Regions from separate parts of the Homo sapiens genome. Here regions 2, 3, 4 and 5 are each linked to region 1. Evidence: promoter capture Hi-C in 16 types of primary human blood cells and fetal thymus (Javierre and others, 2016). All regions are on one chromosome and are shown on one strand. Each heading gives the region's core, a stretch centred on a gene start or on the middle of the fragment in contact. The rest is flanking DNA. Distances are from core to core; before and after follow the strand shown.

What was found. Contacts are between HindIII fragments. The CHiCAGO score rates a contact against its expected background, and 5 or more counts as called.
Region 2: a fragment that was not itself captured here is called in contact with the fragment with the promoter of SERP1 in region 1 in 1 of 17 cell types (activated CD4 T cells); the score reaches 6.1 in activated CD4 T cells.
Region 3: a fragment that was not itself captured here is called in contact with the fragment with the promoter of SERP1 in region 1 in 1 of 17 cell types (activated CD4 T cells); the score reaches 6.9 in activated CD4 T cells.
Region 4: a contact is called between a fragment that was not itself captured here and the fragment with the promoter of SERP1 in region 1, in 5 of 17 cell types (non-activated CD4 T cells, total CD8 T cells, fetal thymus and 2 more). The highest score is 6.8, in non-activated CD4 T cells.
Region 5: a contact is called between a fragment that was not itself captured here and the fragment with the promoter of SERP1 in region 1, in 1 of 17 cell types (naive CD4 T cells). The highest score is 5.2, in naive CD4 T cells.

The regions. Positions count from the first base shown.
Region 1 is chr3:150,545,102-150,547,830 of GRCh38, forward strand. It overlaps SERP1 (stress associated endoplasmic reticulum protein 1), which reads right to left and starts at 1,395. Exons shown (of 3, transcript NM_014445.4): 1 at 951-1,395; 2 at 602-677. The coding sequence starts at 1,034. It overlaps EIF2A (eukaryotic translation initiation factor 2A), which reads left to right and starts at 1,686. Exons shown (of 14, transcript NM_032025.5): 1 at 1,686-1,729. The coding sequence starts at 1,702. RefSeq lists enhancers at 906-1,536, 982-2,181, 1,454-1,993. The HindIII fragment of the contact is 4,802 bases long and covers 162-2,729 here.
Region 2 is chr3:150,788,742-150,791,470 of GRCh38, forward strand. No RefSeq gene overlaps it. Among named protein-coding and RNA genes, the nearest start is that of SIAH2, 27 kb to the left of the region's middle. The HindIII fragment of the contact is 3,952 bases long and covers 1-2,729 here.
Region 3 is chr3:150,739,211-150,741,939 of GRCh38, forward strand. It overlaps SIAH2 (siah E3 ubiquitin protein ligase 2), which reads right to left. Exons shown (of 2, transcript NM_005067.7): 2 at 1,915-2,729. Among named protein-coding and RNA genes, the nearest start is that of SIAH2-AS1, 21 kb to the right of the region's middle. RefSeq lists a silencer at 1,657-1,736. The HindIII fragment of the contact is 1,214 bases long and covers 802-2,015 here.
Region 4 is chr3:150,706,611-150,709,339 of GRCh38, forward strand. It overlaps ERICH6-AS1 (ERICH6 antisense RNA 1), which reads left to right. Exons shown (of 3, transcript NR_121675.1): 2 at 1,322-1,399. Among named protein-coding and RNA genes, the nearest start is that of ERICH6, 4.1 kb to the left of the region's middle. The HindIII fragment of the contact is 1,126 bases long and covers 855-1,980 here.
Region 5 is chr3:150,384,833-150,387,561 of GRCh38, forward strand. No RefSeq gene overlaps it. Among named protein-coding and RNA genes, the nearest start is that of TSC22D2, 22 kb to the right of the region's middle. RefSeq lists enhancers at 1-46, 419-588, 647-956. The HindIII fragment of the contact is 8,290 bases long and covers 1-2,729 here.

The DNA.
Region 1 (2,729 bases), core at 145-2,644:
AAAGGCAAGTGTCTGTTACTCTTAGGGGACAGCAGGCTACCCCGACACTTTTTTTTTAAACCATGTATCAAACGTTTCTTTTATTAACCTAAAAACATTTGACTCACACATTAAAATGCCAATCAGGTAATTTCCTCTATAGTGAATCAATTCTTTGCACAAGCTTTATTTTATAAAATATACTCAATTTTGACATTAAGACATTAGATTCTGGTATATGTTAAATCAAGTTCTAACATCTATAGTACATATTTATAATTTTCTTTGCAAAGACTGATAATGGAGTTACAAAACATTCTAAATTCTCATTTCGTTAGGTTTTGTCCGGTCTTAACATTTATTCCAACTGGATCATTACCAAGACCTGACCTCCTTTTTGATCTCCTGTGAGTACAAATTAAGCTGGGAGAAGTTTCTGGAGCACCACCCTCTGTGCATATGTGGAACAAGTAATTTGGTTCAGACGAAACAGAATTATGTGGAGTCCTCGGCAGGTGGGTTGAGAACTACGCAGGTAGGACTCACTACTGACCGGTCACCACGTCATCCCAAATCCTTTCAACCCAAGACTCTACCTGATGGGAGCCCCCAAGCCACTTACCAGAACCACAGACAACAAAAATGAAGAGAGCCAATAACCAGGGTCCTACAGACGCCTTCTCTTCGGGGGCATTTCTCTGCAAAAGCGAAAATCCACCATTTCAGATGCAGAGAAACCACTCGGACCCCAGGCTCCCACGCCTGCACGCCGGTCGCCGGCCCCCTCACCTCACAGGTCTCCCCTTCCGTTCCCGAGCCCCCACAGTCTGGCGGTTCGCAGACTCGGGCCCCTACCCCTCCACGGCACCAGCCCACGGTCGGCCGGATCCGGGAGAAAACGCGACGCGGCCCCAGGGACCCGGACTCAGCTCCGGCTGCGGAACGCAGAGGGGCGCCCGCTCTTTCCTTACCGAGGTCTTGGCGACGTTGCCGCGCTGGGTGATGTTCTTGCTGTGCTTCTCGTTGGCCATACGGATCCTTTGCTTGGCGACCATCTTCGCGGCGCCACCACCTGCCCCGGCCACCCCTCGGACTCGCTCACTCGCCTGCCTCCTCTGGAGCCGCTGCGAGGCTCGGCTCGTGGTGCCCGCGCCGCCGGAGCGCCGAGGTTCTCAGGCCAGACGCTAGCTACGGCCGCTGGGCCTGGGCGCCGCAAGCGCGAGGTCTGAGCACAAGCCGGGCGCCGGCCGCCGACTGACTGACCGAGCGGGGCAGGTGCGCAGGAGGAAGAGAACTGGCCGCCGGGTCGTTCTCGCGCCGCCGTCGCCGCCGCTTTGGCCGCCGCCGTGAGCGCGGAGTGAAAGAGGAAGGAAACGCAACGCAACAACGGGAATGTGCAGCCCGCCGCCTCGATCTACTTTGGGTTCGGCTGCCAACGTCAGCACTAGACGGACTCCGCCCCGCGGAAGTGCGCGCCCCTCCCGCTGGAGAAGGAGGGCGAAAGCAGGCGCACCCTCCCAAGCTCTGTCAAGCGTCGCCCTAGATTTGCGCGTGCGCGTTTGGGCGCCTTTTCCGCGTCACTCCGTAACCGGAAGTGAATTGGCCCCGAGGCTGATGGCTCCGGAAACACCAATTCGCTGTCTCCACGCATGAGGAGACGTGTAGGGGCCGGGTTCGGCCCTGGTGAACTCTCACCCGAGCGGTTTCTCTTTCCGGGACAACATGGCGCCGTCCACGCCGCTCTTGACAGGTGAGTTCTGAAGAAGCGAGGGACTCTCTTTCTTCAGACTAGTTTCTTATTTTTGTCTTTGCCTTTGAGAACTACCCGAGGAGCCGGGGAGTCTGATCTGCCTTTTCTTGTGGCTTGCGGAAAGGCCAGACTGTTGGCTTTCTTGATATAGCGTGGCAATCGGAAGTGAAGTCTCCGCCTCTGGGCTTTCGTATTCCCCCTCCCTTTCACCCATCCATCATTCTTGCCTGCGGATTCATCTTCTACAGAAATAGAAGAAGGGGGAGAAAAACAATGTGCTAGTTGAATTTGTGACACATGGGTCTGCAATACTGGTGTTACACGGGCCCTTGTGAAGTCATTTAGGTCTACAATAAGAACAAAGACAAACATGAGTTAGTCCTCTAGAATGATCACGCACTTTAAATACACCTGGACTTAAGTAATTCCAGATTCTGGCCTTCCTGCCTTAATGAGGTTTGTAGGACTGAATAGGGAGAGTGGAGCTGTAATGCAGGTTTCAAATGATGAAGGTGTGGTTGGGAGAGGGTGTAGCAGTGAGCATGATAGAGATATTCTAGCAACATTTGATTTTGAAATGGTTATGAGCATATTAGAAATAGAACATTAGAGGACTCTTGAAATTTTGAAGCTAAAGACTGTAGTGTTGGAGGAGATAATAAACTTAGATTGGAAAATGCTGGGGAAGTTGCTTTACTAGGGTGTGGCTAAGAGTCTGCATATGAGTATTACGTAAGGAAAAGAGAGTCGGGAAGGAAAAGAAGGTTTTGGTTAAGTTCTGATAACTATATAGAAGGAAAAAGTCATTAAGAGAAAGGTTGTCTGCATTTAAGGAGGGAGGCTATTCCCTCCCTTCCCCCCCGCGAAAGGAACCTTAAAACATTTTTGCACTTTTTGCCAGTCTACATTTCTATTTTTACATTTTAAAATCTTTGTTATTAAGCGCCATGCCCACTGATGCTCAGTCTGTCTTCTGCAGTTTAGTCATCATTTATCAAAC
Region 2 (2,729 bases), core at 78-2,577, 240 kb after region 1:
GTGGTGGTGATCATCGTTTGCAATTTAGACTTCTCCAGAAGTTTTTTGAAGATCTTCCTTAAAATGGGGTTGAGGTGTTATACAACAGCCAAGCTACAGACTGCTTTCAGGTACTGATTGGTTTCTGGCTAAACTGGTATTCCAGATAACAGTTACGGTGATTTTGCTAGAGATTTAGTCCAAAATATGCCTCCATTTTTCTCATAAGAATAGTGTCTGTACAGAGTAAAAACCTAAATTAGCAACTAAAGTTTACTAAGAAATGAGATGAACAACCTTACTAGCATTCAAAATTGCAAATTAAACAACACAAGATACCATTTTTTCCTTATCAAGTGGCAAAAACTAAAAAGATTAATGACATACAGTGCTAATAGAGGGAAAACAGGCCTTCTCATATACTGAAGGTAGGACTGAAAATTATTACTGCTCTTGGGGAGATAGTATAGTAATATTTATTAAAATTTTTAAAAATATTTTTTGCCCCAAATCTCATTTTGAGGAGTATATTTTTCAGATATGAAAGCTGTAGAACATAGAAATACGTAATTGAGATGATTTTTGCACATTTTTTAGTAGCAAAACAAAACAAAATTGAGATACAACTGAACTGTACTTCAATAGGATATATTTTGGTATAAATGTAATTTGGTATATTCATAATTCCAATTTAAATTAGTGTGTAGGAATGAATTAGATCTATATGAATTGTTCTAGAGGATCACCATAGTAAGTTGAATGAAAAAAAAAAAGAAATTGTGGAGTCTTAAACATAGTATGATTCAGTTTTTGTAAGAACAAAAAATTCAAACTCTTTAGGAATATCTGCTTGCATGCGAGCATGGAGAAAGGTATCGAGGGGATACTCACTAGACGTTCCACCCTTGGAGGGTGGAATAAGAGGAAGTAGGGGTGTGTGTGTGTGTGTGTGTGTGTGTGTGCATATGTGTGTGTTATGTGGTGGAAGTATTATGAATTTTTTCTTTAATGCATCTTAAAAAATGCATGTCAATATTTTTAAAATTTTTTAAAAAAGGACAAGGAAACATGGTCCCCAGAAGGTTAAGGCATTTGACCAAAGTCTTAACAACTAGTTAATGTCCCAGCGGGGCTACAATCCAGGTCTGCTGAGCACTGATTCCTTATGTTCATTCTCGGCACTGCTCACTATTGAAAAAAAAGGTAGCTGGCAAAATTCATTACTGCTTCTTCTATTTGATGTTTTCACACTTCCCTTTCCTTTTCTATTGAGTAGCCAAGCTAGGAGAGCAAGAGTTTTTAGTTGTAGCCAGATCCTCTGTGTTCATCCTTAGGCAGACAATTTCCTTTTGACTGGATAAGTTAATTTCCATGACTGAGTTAGCTATTCAATGGCAATCCCCAGAGTTAAAAGGATCGAGGAGGTGACTGAAGAGTTATAAATTTTCTCATTGTCCAGTCAAGATGTTCTCCTTGATCTGATGAATTTTCAGAAGCCAGCATTTTATTTCATTTCCAGTTTGACATAAAAGTTATTGTGTCCTTGGGGTTATAAGAAATACAATATCACCTGTGACCTTCCTTTTATACAGAAAACTCTCCAGAGACCTCAGGGAATTTACGCAGTTTAATTTGGGCTTTGTTCAGCCCTCTTTTAGCTAACATTAGCCTGTAGGACCTTTTCAACAGTTATTATTTAATCCAGGGAGAGACTGTTACCCATCAAATGGAACACATTGCTGAATCCACTTAGTTTTTTTCTTTTTATTCTTGTGGAAATGCTTTTTTCCTGACTTTCTTGACCTCTATCTAGAGTTTGGAAATATATAACTACAAAGTGTGGATCTGAGCCTGAAGGAACTATGAGGTGGTATGGTAGGCAGAATAACACCCGCCCAAAGCTGTCTAAGTCCTAAGTCTCTGAAATTTGTGAATACATTATCTTACTGGCAAAGGAACTTTGCAGATGTGATTTGGTTAAGGGCTTTGAGATAGGGACAGTATTCATTATTGGTGTGAGTTCAATCTAATCACATGGATCTTTAAAAGAAGAAATCCTTTCCCAGTTGTAGTCAGAAGGAGATGTGATTATGAAAGAATGTTCAGAGTTGCAACATTGCCAGCTCTGAAGATGGAGAAAGAGGCCACAAGCTAAGGAATGCAGAGGGCCTTTAGAAGCTGAGAAAGGAAATAAAACAAATCTTTTCCTAGAGCCTCTAGATGGAACACATCTTGATCATAGCACATGTTGCACTTGGAGAGACAGGGGGAGCCAGATGTGCTTCAGTGAGGGGTCTAGCTCTATTTCCCACTCCTCTTTCAGCTTTCCTCTCCTCCACATGGAGCGTCCTCAAGCTGACTTACCCCTATGGTTGCAAGATGATGGGCAGCAGTGACTGGGGCAATAAGTGTTCTTGTTTACATCCACAGGAAGGAAAAGAAAACCTCTCCTCCACCCATGAAATAAGGCATTCCCTGAAGTCTGATTAGGCCAAATTGGATCATACGCCCATCCCTAGACCAGCCCTGGGAATACCAGCTACTGATGGTTTAAGCCTATGTTCCTAAATCAGTTACTATCAGATGGTAGTGATGGGCTGTTCACATGGAGGAGGGGAAAATTGAAAGAAGAGTGGGAAATAGAGCTAGAACCTTCACCACAGCACATCTGGCTCATCCTGCCTCTCTCAAAGACTTATTAGGTAAAATAATGCAGTTCTATATTATTCAAACCAGTTGACTTGGGTTTT
Region 3 (2,729 bases), core at 159-2,658, 190 kb after region 1:
TGTTAACATTTTCTCCCAAGGTATTTTGAGAACCCTTTTTTCTTTAGAATGACTCATGCGTCATAAGACACAGGCTTAATCTACCATCGTTTAATCGCCAGATTACCAAATTAGAATATTGAACTAGGACAGGAAAGATAAAATATTCTTATTTTATTTTTTAAAATATGGTACTTAAGTGGACCACGTGATGAGTTTTGACAAATGCCTATCATTACTTTTCTTTTTTTTTCTCACTTTTTTTAAAAGCAACAAGTCAAGGAATATACTCATCATGTTTTAAATTGCATTTGCAATTGGAACTGCATAAAAAGGCATTTTAATTTACATAATCTTTTTCTGCTGTTTTCACTTCCTGTTAAAACGGAATAACCTGGGGATTTTTATTTTCTGGTAGAAAATGCACAGTTTCAAGAAAGTCAAGAGTAAAGGTTAAGTTTACAGATTTCCAGTGACAGAGATGAAAGGGAACTACGTAACTCTGGAAAATAAAAGTTCAGAGTTGCGTTGCTTACAACTTTTTCATTTGTTAAGTTCTAGGAGCAAGTTTGAATGGGGAATCAAGAAGCCTGAATTATAGAACCAGTGCTGCCAGTAATGCACTGTGTGGCTGCTGGCCCATCACTTTACCTTTTTGGGCTAAAACTCTTTTTGTGCTTTTGGAATAACTTGTGTCCACTTTCTCCTTCTTTATGTCTTTTGTTTATAGGTTTGCGTTTTATGCACTGTTAACCAATCAGTCCTGATTCCTCTACCACACGTAGTAAGAGGGTAAGCCGTGGACATGAAGTGATGCTGCCAAGCTTGGCTAGTGTATGCACACTGCACCTTGCATGGGTGCCGTGAGGGCCCTGGAGGCCATATCTGGACTGGCTCTGGTCCTGAGGGTCAGAGTTCATCTGCTCCTGGATCCTAGTTTCACCTTCATAGGTTCCTCTGTATATGGACTTGAAATGTGACTTTCTTAGTGATAAGAGTTGTGGTTTTTATTCATTCACCACAGATGTTGTAAACCCCTACTTTTGTGTAGGGCACCGTTTTTCACTTTTACAGAAGAGGTTACTTTAGCAATTCTTTAAATGTCAGAGCCCTGTGCTGGCTAAAAACTCAACGCTGTATCTCACTTAAAAAACAAAATCAACTCCAAAGCCATCACCTCCATTTGGTAGTATGCTAATGAAATTGGGACACTGAGGGCTGGGTGTGGTGGCTCATGCCTTAATCCCAGCACTTTGGGAGGCCGAGGCAAGTGGATCACTTGAGGTCAGGAGTTCGAGACCAGTCTGGCCTCATCTCTACTAAAAATACAAAGATTAGCTGGGTGTGGTGGCATAGGCCTCTAGTCCCACTTACTTGGGAGGCTGAGGCAGGAGAATTGTTTGAACCTAGAGGCAGAGATTGCAGTGAGTGCCATTGCACTCCAGCCTCTGTCTCAAAAAAAAAAAAAAAAAAAAAGAAAGAAATTGGGACACTGAGGTAAGCAGCCTTCAATCCTTGCTGAGCATTTGGCCCTAATCCTCTAAATTCTTTTGAGAGTTTAGGGTTGGGACTGAGGGAGTGGGTCAGCTTGGATCAACGCCAGCACTCTGGATGTCAGCAGTGGCCAAGCGTCTTCCTTCTGACTCTGTAAAGCTGGAGCAATCCTCTTATTGCACAGGTACTGGCACTGTCAGATAGAAACGACAGCCCTGGGAGGAGACCTGCAGCACTGACAGTCAGTGGTTCAGACACATGAGCCCGGACCCCAGTGCTGTCATGGACCCGTGCCATGACCTTGGCCCAATGACTGTTTCCACAGTGGAAACAAACAGTGAAAGTTCCAACCCCAGATGTAGTGACGAAGGTTCATTGCACTTGCACACAGTAGATGCTCAATAAATACCCATTACTCAATTAGGGAAATGAAGCACAATATCCATTTTTGGAAAATATTTATTAAAAAACTAGTGAATGTGGCAGAAAAACAAAACCAACACACAGCTTTAAATAGCAAGCATATGACACACCGGTTATAAAGCTTTTCCAACTCTACTGATTTAGTCTTTCACACCAGCTACTGTTGAGGAGGGCTTCCGAGGGAAGCCACGTGTAAACGGGTCATCTGTACTAGTGGTGAGCAAAACTAATTACATGAGAACTATCAATGGCCATATGACTTGCTTTCCTAGGCAATCCACCCAAAACATAGGTGAGTGGCCAAATCTCAGGCGTGCGTTCATGTGGATCTATAGTTCTAGTTTTAATTTGAGGGTTGGGGGAAGTTAGGGGATGAAACAGTAGAAAGACAAACAGTATCGGCAGAGGGCAACCTTAAAGCACCTTTAAAATCTGGACCCTTTCCCACAATTTAACCCAGTAATTCTCAAACATTACTGTTGAAAAGAATCACCTGATGAGACTGTTAAATTGGCAGGCTCCCTAAATCTGCAATTTTAAGATAAGCACTCCGGGTGATTCAGTGTCTATTAGCCAGCCATCCAATTTCAGAAACACTGTTTAAAATGCATTAAAACAATTCCTACCTCCCACAAACAAAAGTAAAGGAATCTGCTGACAGTCACTGTGCTTTTGTCAATGTCAAGGGACCAATATGGGAAGGCAGGCAGGAAGGGGCCTCCCATTCCTAACACACTGATCTATAGAAGCCCTGTGCAACAGCCTGTCAAGTGTTGTTTAGGGAGTAAATACAATTCAATAAGAGTTGTTTTAGATCACAGAACAGCATCCAA
Region 4 (2,729 bases), core at 168-2,667, 160 kb after region 1:
ATCATGGCTGAAGGTGAAGGGGAAGCAAGGCACATCTTACTTGTTGGCAGGAGAGAGAGAGTGCAGGGGAAACTGCCACTTTTTCTTTTTTTTTTTTGGAGACAGAGTCTCACTCTGTTGCCCAGGCTGGAGTGCAGTGGCGCAATCTTGGCTCACTGCAAGCTTGGCCTCCCGGGTTCACGTCATTCTCCTGCCTCAGCATCCCGAGTAGCTGGGACTACAGGCGCCCGCCACTACGCCTGGCTAATTTTTTGTATTTTTAGTAGAGACGAGGTTTCACGTGTTAGTCAGGATGGTCTCGATCTTCTGCCCTCAGGTAATCCACCCGCCTTGGCCTCCCAAAGTGCTGGGATTACAGGTGTGAGCCACCATGCCCAGCCAGAAACTGCCACTTTTAAACCATCAGATCTCATTGAGAACTCCCTCACTATCACGAGAACCGCATGAGGGAAACCACCCCCATGATCTGATCACCTCCCACCAGGTCCTGCCCTCAACATGTGGGGATTACAATTCAAGATGAGATTTGGGTCAGGAAACAGAGCCAAACCATATCAAGAGGTAATGGATTTTTAAAAAATTTCCTATCTCAAGTATATAATGTTATGTAATTGTTCCCTATTGTCATCATTTGATATTTTGTTTGCCTTTCTTTAATTTTGTTTTTAATTGGCACATCATAATTGTACATATTCATGGGATACAGTGTGATGTTTCAATATGTGATACATTGTGTGAAAATCAAATCAGGATATTTAGCATATCCATCATCTCTTACATTTATCGTTTGTATTAGTTCCTTCTCACACTGCTAATAAAGACATACTTGAGGCTGGGTAACTTATAAAGGAAAAAGCTTTAATTAGGCCTCAGGAGACTTACAATCATGGCAGAAGGGAAAGCAAACACATTCTTCTTCACATGATGGCAGGAAGGAGAAGTGCCGAGCAAAAGTGGGGAAAGCCCCTTATAAAACCATCGGATCTCGTAAGAACTCACTCACTATCATAAGAACAGCAGCATGGGGGTAATTGCCCCCACGATTCAATTACCTTCTATGGGTTTCTCCCACGACACGGGATTATGGGAACTACAATTCAAGATGAGATTTGGGTGGGGACACAGCCAAACTATATAATCATTTCTTTGTGATGAGAACATTCAAAATTATCTCTTCTAGCTATTTTGAAATATGTAATATTGTTAACCATAGTCAGCCTAGTGTGCAGTAGAATACCAGACTTTATTCCTCCTATCTAACTGTAACTTTGTACTCGTTGACCAATTTCTCTTTATTTTCTCTCCATCCTCCCCTCCGCAGCCTCTGGTAACCACTGTTCTACTCAATACTTCTATGAGGTGAACTTCTTTGGATTCCACATATGATCAAGATCATGAGGTATTTGTCTTTCTATAGCCTGGCTTATTTCACATTACATAATATCCTCCAGGTTCATCCACATTGTTGTATATGACAGGATTTCATTCCTTTTTATGGCTGAATAGTATTCCATTGTATCTATACACGACTTTTTCTTTGTTTGAGACAGATTCTTGCTCTATTGTCTAGGCTAGAGTGCAGTGGTGCAATCATGGCTCACTGCAGCCTCAAACTCCTAGGTTCAAGCGATTCTTCCACCTCAGCCTCCCCAGTAGCTAAGACTACAGGTGTGCACTATCATGCCTGGCTAATTTTTAGTTTTCTGTAGAGACAGAGTCTTGCTATTTTGCACAGGCTGGTCTTGAACTCCTGGCCTCAAGTGAGTCTCCCACCTTGGCCTCCCAAAGTTCTGGCAATACAGCTGTGAGCCACCATACTCTGGCAGATTATTATCATTATTATTATTTAGCTTTTGAGTATTCTGAGTTCCTCATATATTCTGAATATGAACCCCTTGTCAGATGTATGATTTGCAAATATTTTCTCCTGTTCTGCAACTTGTCTCTTCACTCCGTTGATTGTTTCCTTTGCTGTGCGGAAGCTTTTTAGTTTGAAATAATTCTATTTGTCTATTTTTCTTTTTGTTTCTTGTGCTTTTGGGGTCTTATTTTAAAAATCCTTGCTCAGAACAATGTCATGAAGCATTTCCCTTGTGTTTTCTTCCACTAGTTTTATTGTTTCAGGTCTTACACTTAAGTCTTTAATCCATTTTGATTTGATTTTTATATATGGTAAAAGATAGGGATCTAGCTTTATTCTTCTGCATGTGGATATCCAGTTTCCAGCACTATGTATTGATGAGACTGTCTTTTCTCCATTGTGTGTTCTTGGAACCTTTGTCGAAAATCAGTTGGCTCTAAGTATGTGAATTTATTTTTGTGTTCTCCGTTCTGTCCCATTGGTCTGTGTGTCTGGTTTTTTGTCAGTATCATGTTGTTTTAGTTACTACAGCTTTGTAGTATATTTTGAAGTCAGGTAGTGTGATGCCTCCAGCTTTGTTCTTTTTGTTTCCTTTTCTGTTTTCCATTTTTCCTCAAAGACTGCCATGAATACCACCACTTTGAGAAAGGCAGGAAAGTGAATTTTTGTCCGGCTTAAACTTCTTATTTGCATATAGAATATTTTGAATGGGCTATAGATAGCTCCCTAGCACATCCATGAAGAAAGCACAGTATCTCTTCAGAATGCCTTAGTTAAGCATTGTTCTGATTCATGGTGGAAGAACAACTTTAAAGAACTGTAGCCTTGATGATGGCTAATTAAAAATGTTCCTAAAGCTGGGCGCGGT
Region 5 (2,729 bases), core at 89-2,588, 160 kb before region 1:
AGCCTCCAGCCTCTCTAAAATTGGAAGTGCAGAGAGAGAAGGGAAAGTGAACAAGTATCTGTTTCTTCTTCCCTCTCCCGCTCCAGCCCCTCCCCCTTAGTTCTCCAACCCGGGCCTCACTATAGGTCAAAATGAATGCAGCTGCCCAACACTGTGATGCGAGCTCGTTCACACTGACGGACACTTTTCTCATGTTCACGTGGTAGGTCACAGAGCAGTAGGGGAAAGGGAAGTGGTGATGCAGTATCTACTACCTACGCTAGGGGTAGGGGACCAGAAAGTTGCTAGGGGAAAAAAAAATATTCGAACAGTGAAATGGAGCGTGTAACAAAGTGGAGGAGAGTGACTCTTTGAACCGCTATGGTGGCAGGAAGAGCAAATCAGGTGCTGTGTTACAAAAGAACAGGGAAAAAATGTACAAGTGAGATGGTATATATCCAAGTTATTTGAAGACCCTGAAATCCTTCAAATATTAGAGATTATAGCTATGATGCTAAATGCCTTAGGGACTTTCAGAAGAGCTTGTATATTTAAAAGGGGTGCAAAACCTCGAAAATTTATAGGCATCCTAGAAAGTCCCCCAACAGAAACTCTGAAACCTGCATCGAGACTTCCCATTTTACAGTACAAGGAAGGTGGGGGTAGGGGATGGGGTGGTTTCCACCGGGCCCAGCAAAAAAAAGCAGAAAGGTCACCTCCTCCCAATCTGCAAGTATCTGAAATCCCCTCATGGAGGATTGTGACATGAGGCTGAAAGACTCAGAGCACACAGGATGAGACCTCAGGCCAGAGCCAGGTCAGCTCAGCTCGCAAAAGAAGGGTGGGAAGTTCCTACTCTGGTGCTGCTGGCACACCATCCCCCAGAATGGAGGCAGGAGTGGGAGGCAGGCTGCCTGGCAGAACTAGGTGGAGAGGGAAGAAAATGGCCTGAGAATGCTGACTAGATTTGAGTATTTGATGTCTGAAGGGGATTTGGGGTGAGGCAGGGAACAAATGACTTGAAAAGAAAACCACGAAGGCAGATGAAAGACACAAGATAGAAGAGGGGAGGCTAACTATAAGAAAGTGATTGTGGGCAGGTTGAGAGATAGCCATTGGGACAAAAGAAAGTGGTCAGTGAGGGCGAGGAAGGAAGAAATCAGCCTCAGAAGGAGCAGAATTCACACCAGTCTGAAGCCCAAATCTGAAATAGATTCACACATTATTCAAGCCCAAGAGTTGTGGTTTGGGGTGCCCTTATATGGGGCTGGGGGGAGGTGGCAGGAGGGGTTCTTTTTAAATAAATGAACCATAAATGATTCAAAAGATTTTTTTAACTTTTTATTATGAAAAATTGAGCATACAAAAAAGTAAGCAGAATATAATAATGACCTTCATGTACCCAGTACTCTGATCCAACAATTGTCTAATCCTGGTCAATCATGTCATTCAACCACAGCCATTTTCCCGCTTCTCATATTAGTTTTTTTTTTTTTTTTTTTAATTATTGTAGTAATGGCTGGGCACGGTGGCTCACACCTGTAATCCCAGTACTTTGGGAGGCTGAGGCGGGCCGATCACAAGGTCAGGAGTTTGAGACCAGCCTGGCCAACATGGTGAAACCCCATTTCTACCAAAAATACAAAATTATCTGGGTGTGGTTGTGCACACCTGTAATCCCAGTTACTCAGGAGGCTGAGGCAGCAGAATCGCTGGAACCCGGGAGGCAGAGGTTACAGTGAGCTGAGATCATGCCACTGCACTCCAGGCTGGGTGACAAGAGTGAAACTCCATCTCAGAAAAAAAAAAAAAAAAAAGTGACCACAATGTCATTATACCTCAAAAAGTCTTACCATCAGGGGATATTTTGGTGGCATTTCTACATTAAAGCCTCTCTTGTTACTGTACCCAAAAATGCTTGTGCATTTTAGAAGAATTTGGAAAGGTGAGAAGAAATTTTACTAAGAGAAGGGATCAGGAGGTAAAGCTGTATCAGGAACCCTGGGAAGGACAAAGACCTAGCAAGAAAGACTGTTCTAGGCTGGGCACGGTGGCTCACACCTGTAACCCCAACACTTTGGGGGACGAGGCAGGCGGATCACCTGAGGTCAGGAGTTCGAAACCAGCCTGACCAACATAGAGAAACCTCTACTAAAAATACAAAATTAGTTGGGCATGGTGGCGCATGCCTGTAATCCCAGCTACTCGGGAGGCTGAGGCAGGAGAATCACTTGAACCTGGGAGGCAGAGGTTGCTGTGAGCCAAGATTGCGCCATTGTACTCCAGCCTGGGCAACAAGAGCAAAACTCTGTCTCAAAAAAAAAAAAAAAAAAAAAAAAAGATTGTGTTCTGTGGTTGGTCATAGAATACAGCTGTGCAGTGGAGGACATGCGTCTTATAAAACTCCATACTTAGCTCTAGAGAAGTCTGCAGCAATCAGTAGACATCAAAAAGCCAACATTGAAACTGCTCTCATTGAAAGCAGAGAATTAGGGGATCTCTATAGCAGCAAAAATGGTGTTTTCTGTTCTGTCTCCCTTCCCCCAATCTATTGTACTAATATATTATGTGCATCATAAAATATTTAAAAAACGTATCATTAAAGGATGTGATTAAAAAATAAACTTCTTATATTTTTCTCACACTCTAATACATCATCTTGCACCCCTCACTTTGGACACCACAGAGCTTGATTGTCACTGTTACCCCAAGTGTAATCTTTAAGTGGGTGATAGAGAAATCAGGTTTGG